2 separate regions of the Homo sapiens genome follow, and region 2 is linked to region 1. The links are contacts of gene promoters, found by promoter capture Hi-C in human tissues and cell types (Jung and others, 2019). All regions are on one chromosome and are shown on one strand. Each heading gives the region's core, a stretch centred on a gene start or on the middle of the fragment in contact. The rest is flanking DNA. Distances are from core to core; before and after follow the strand shown.

Region 1 (2,653 bases), core at 66-2,565:
CACTGTTTCCTAATACAGCCCCTACCCAACTCTAGCCCGGGTTCAAAGGAAAATTCCTCAGCCCTCATTTCGTCCTCCGAACGAGCTAGGAACATGGGCAGCTGAAGCCTGAAAAGAAACAAGTCTCCAATCTTCCCTGGTCCTGTATTTCTTCACAAACTGAAACACGGAGGATTTTTAAAGCGTCTTAACAACTCTCCCACTTCTAATATTATTGGAATCCCTAAGATCAGGGCCCCAGGCTTTTTGTTCTAACCCATCACAATTTTCGATACCCTGAAGGGAACCTGCCTCCCACCTTCCCCGTAAGTGAAGAGTTTAGCGCAGTGGGCCAGATCCCTCTTCCTCCCTCAGAACCTGTTTTCTTATCTCTATATTGAGATCTGAGACTGAGTATTATCAGGTGCCCTGAGATTGGGATTGTAAATGATTTGAGGTTTGTCTCAAACACTCCATATCGCGATTCTCGGGACCGCCAAAAGCCCCGCATATGCAGGATGTGTGCGTGCGGACACTCAAAGAATGCAGATGCTTTTAGGCAACATGTGCCAAACACGTTAATATGAGGCGCCCCACTACCAACAGACGGGGCAGAAACCACCTGGCGGGAGAGATCAGAGCAAATCAGCAAAAAGGAAAAGGGGTACGCGAGGGGCCCGTGGCCTCCAAGCATCCGCCGAAACGGCTCTGCCCTCATCCACGTGAAGGAAGGAAAGGGGCCCCCCCACCAAGTTCTCACAACCGCCATTTTGGAAACAAAGGGGGCGTGGAGACGCTGCCGTGGGCCCGACCGGAAGCGGAAGTGCCAAGGCAGCGGGAGAAAAGAGATTACGGGGACTAACATAATCTCCTTTTCAGAGAAACCAAAAAGATTTTAAAAAACAAAAGTTCACGTCGAGGCATCTGGCGCGCTCGTGCCGCGTCCCCCGCGCCACCTCCGCCAGGACCACGTGGGGCGCAGGGACAGCCGCCGTGCGCATGCGTCACGGGCCCGCGCCCCGCCGCCCCCTTCCCCTCGCCTAGCGCGCGGCGGAACGCTGGGGACGTCACGTGAACGAGGCGCGCGCCACGGAACCAGGGTTGGGGGGCGCCGCGCGGCCGTGAAGTGGGGGGAAGCGAGGGAGAAAATGGCGGGGGGGCAAAGAGCGACGCGAGGAGCCGCCCACACCTCCGCCCCGCGACCCCGGTGCCCTCACCTTGTTTATTCTCGTTGAGCTGCCGCTCGAACTCGTCGAAGTCCGACATGCTGAGGCGGCCGCGTAGGGCCCTGTGCAGCTTTCGCCTCGCCTTGCCGCCCGCTCCAGCCGCTTCGGCTACTTCCGCCGCTGGCTTCGGCTACTTCCGGCCGCCGCCGGCGCTTCGCCACCTCCTACCTAATCAAGCCTCCGGCAGCCCTCCCCGCCCCGCCCGGGCTCCGCCCCCTCACCCGCCCGCCCGCCCGCGAGCTTGCCCCTCCCCCCGAGCCTGGCTCCGAAGCGCCTCGGCTATCTCCGGATACTGGACGAAGGCGAAGCAGGCGGCCGCTTCGGCTGCTTCCGAAAACACCCGAACGTAGGGTTTCGCCGACTTCCCAGGTTTCCGTAACTTTTCCGAGATTATCTCCTCAACGTTCGGAGGTTTCCGTGTGTCCTCGTGTGCCACTGCGCCCAGTCCCCTCTGCGAGTTCGGGTTCTTCCAACAATTCAATCCGTCCCAGTCTTTGGCTTCTTCCACGGACTTGCTCCGATCTTCTCCGCCGGCCCTGTCCAAGCAATCGGCCACTTCCGACAATCCTAACCGTCCCGGCCTTCGGCTCTTTCCGGAGATTTCCGGATCTCGCCCTCGGGCCCCTCCTGGGATTAAGCTCGAGTCCGTGTTTCGGCTCTTTCCGGAGATGCCACTTGCTCACGCCTCCGATCAGAGAACTTCGGCTCCTTCCGCCACCGCTTCGTGAAGGCCTCACTCTCCGGGGACAGCTTCGACTTTTTCCGTGGGTACCTCGGCTCCTTCCGGCTTCGGGAACGGAAAAGGGAAGGAGAACAGAGACGAGATGGATCAGGGGAAGGGATAGAGAAGGGGACGAGGTCCTAGTTCTCGGCACCTGGCTCTCCGGGTGGGGAAAGTGAAAGAAAAAAAGGGCCGGCCTCGCGGAGGGCCTGAGAAGGTTGTGCCAGACAAAAGCAGCAAGAGGGATGAAGGGTGCGCGCGACCGCTGCGGAGGTTGCCAGCGCGGCTTTTTGCGCCTGCGCAGGGTGGAAGCCGCGGGTGAGGGGAAACAGGCTTCTGCGCCTGCGTAAAAGTCGTTCTGTGGCGCGCTCTCCCACTGCTCCCGTGAAGGGGGTTGCGGGGACCAGGTTTCAGTCCCCATTGCGCGTGCGCGAGATTTCCCTTACAACGGTGAAAGTGCTTAATCCCCAGCCGTTAAATCCGGCCACCCTCTTGGTTGTCTCGGCAACCACATCAACGCGCTCCGGCTCTTCCCGCCGCGCAGGCGCGGCAGACGGATCATCTGGCATTACTTCCGGGAGACAGATGATCTGGCGTTACTGCCCCCTGGCGGCCCAACGGAAGTATCCTCCAGACTTGGCCTGGCCGCTAGGTGGCCTCCCTCGCTAGAGGTCATCGACTCACGCCTCTCGCGCCGCGCTCCGGTCTGGGTAGCCCAGCGGGTAGT
Region 2 (2,653 bases), core at 69-2,568, 1.3 Mb after region 1:
GGGGTTTTTTGTTTTTTAATTTTGTTTTTAACAGTAGTAAACTGATAGGCTTTGAACATATTCATTAGTTTTAATACACTACCTATATTATTTGATTCTATAAATATTCCACATTTTGCCATTGGGAACTTTTCATGATAGACTTTATGTTCAGGTAACATGAATCTGATGGTATGTGGTGATGTCTTTGCTTTCTTGCATGATAAGAAGTTCTGACTTCATCTCCTGTATTTTCTCTCCGAATGTGGAGTCAGCTATTTCTCTAGGATGAAATTTAGAATTTTTGACCATACATATTTTAAGAATTAAACATTTTTGAGGGTGTATTCACTTATGTTTTACTATATATAGTCAAAATTATATAATAATATTAACTATATGTCACTACATAATATATAATTTGATTTAAAAGTATACATTTATTATATAATATGATAAATAATATATGCATTATAAAATATATGGTCAAGTAATTTTGCTTACATTCTAGTACAAATAATTCTTCCTTGTTTAGTAATGCCCTAATTTGATAGGAACTCAATTCTATTTCCTTTTTTAAGGTATTATCTTTAGATTTATAAGTTATATTTAAAAATATTTTATAGTATAGACATTCAGGAATATGTTTATATATGTATATATATATATTTTTAAACGGAGTCTTGCTCGTCGCCCAGGCTAGAATGCTGTGGGTGGCAAGCCACCCAGGTGCCGAGGCAAGAGACAGAGGACACGAGCTGTTCCAGTATAATAAAATATAAAACAAGAATAGTTATACCAGATATAGATCTTAGTTATGATTATATATGAATATCATTAATCATTTGTTTGTAGCAGTTACCCTTTATCCCAATATTATAATAATCCTCCCTCTGTAATCATAACCTAGGAAAAGCCAGGCCATACAGAGATAGGAGCTGAGGGGACACAGTGAGAAGTGACCAGAAGACAAGAGTGCGAGCCCTCTGTCATGCCCGGACAGGGCCACCAGAGGGCTCCTTGGTCTAGCGGTGACGCCAGCGTCTGGGAAGACGTCCGTTGCCAAGCGGACCGTGGTCTAGCGGTAGCGTAAGTGGCAAGGAACAACACCCGCTACTTAGCAGACTGGGGAAGGGAGTCTCCCTTTCCCCGGGGGAGTTTAGAGAAGACTCTGCTCCTCCACCTCTTGTGGAGGGCCTGACATCAGTCAGGCTCGCCCGCAGTTATCCGGAGGCCTAACCGTCTCCCTGTGATGCTGTGCTTCGGTGGTCACGCTCCTAGTCCGCCTTCATGTTCCATCCTGTACACCTGGCTCTGCCTTCTAGATAGCAGTAGTAAATTAGTGAAAGTACTAATAGTCCCTGATATGCAGAAATAATGGCGTAAGCTGTCTTTCTCTCTGTCTCCTCTCCCTCTCTGCCTCGGCTGCCAGGCAGGGAAGGGCCCCCTGTCCAGTGGACACGTGACCCACGTGACCTTACCTATCATTGGAGGTGACTCACACTCTTTACCCTGCCCCTTCTGCCTTGTATCCAATAAATAACAGCGCAGCCCAACATTCGGGGCCACTACCGGTCTCCGCGCATTGGTGGTAGTGGTCCCCCGGGCGCAGCTGCCTTTTCTTTTATCTCTTTGTCTTGTGTCTTTATTTCTACACTCTATCGTCACCACACACAGGGAGAGACCCACCGACCCTGTGGGGCTGGTCCCTACAAATGCAGTGGCACAGTCTCAGCTCACTGCAATCTCCACCTCCCAGGTTCAAGCAATTCTCCTGTCAGAGCCTCCCGAGTAGCTGGGATGACAGGAGTGTGCCACCATGCCCAGCTAATCTTTTTATTTTCAGTAGAGGTGGGGTTTCACCATGTTGGCCAGGCTGGTCTTGAACTCCTGATCTTGCGATTCGCCCACCTCAGCCTCCCAAAGGTATGTTTATATTTCTATACCAAAACAAGAAACAAGACACAATGATGTCAGTCTAGCTTTATTCTGTCTCCTCTGCACTGTTTTCTCTCTCTCTCTCAACTACCCACTTTTAAAGGTATTGATTAATCTTTCATTTTAAAAAATAGATTACAAAATACACACACAATGACATAACACTATACCATTTTTCTCTGGTTCTGAGTAAAATAAAGTTAACTGTTGATAACGTCCTGAATCTTTCTTTTTCTTTTCTCCCTGCCACCCCAACTACACAACTACACGTCTTGGAAGGTCAGCCTTCAAGATAACTCATTCATCTCACCCACAGCTGCCCAGGACTCCACTGTGGGGAGGCCCAGGAATTTATTGAGTCTTTCTTTGATTGAAATTAAGTGGGTTCAAGTCATTGTAGTTTTACAAATCATAATTTTGGAATAAATAGCTTTGTAATTGTACAAGTTTGTTCTTAATGTTTGTATTCACCTGGAATAATGAGTTTCGTGAGAAAAAGGCATTTTCTGGGTGTCAGGCCTCTGAGCCCAAGCTAAGCCATCATATCCCCTGTGACCTGCACATACACATCCAGATGGCTGGTTCCTGCCTTAACTGATGACATTCCACCACAAAAGAAGTGAAAATGGCTTGTTCCTGCCTTAACTGATGACATTATCTTGTGAAATTCCTTCTCCTGGCTCATCCTGGCTCAAAAGCTCCTCTACGGAGCACCTTGTGACCCCCACACCTGCCC

The links. The method cuts DNA at HindIII sites, captures the fragments that hold promoters and counts their contacts. A contact is called where the count stands out against the background at its distance.
Region 2: a contact is called between a fragment that was not itself captured here and the fragment with the promoter of U2AF2 in region 1, in 1 of the 25 tissues and cell types used here (H1 embryonic stem cells).

The regions. Positions count from the first base shown.
Region 1 is chr19:55,653,697-55,656,349 of GRCh38, reverse strand. U2AF2 (U2 small nuclear RNA auxiliary factor 2) reads right to left here and starts at 1,315. Exons shown (of 12, transcript NM_007279.3): 1 at 1,197-1,315. The coding sequence starts at 1,245. RefSeq lists enhancers at 490-569, 1,520-2,189 and silencers at 930-1,069, 1,280-1,329, 1,420-1,469. The HindIII fragment of the contact is 13,132 bases long and covers 510-2,653 here.
Region 2 is chr19:54,321,422-54,324,074 of GRCh38, reverse strand. No RefSeq gene overlaps it. Among named protein-coding and RNA genes, the nearest start is that of LILRA5, 9.6 kb to the right of the region's middle. The HindIII fragment of the contact is 5,873 bases long and covers 1-2,653 here.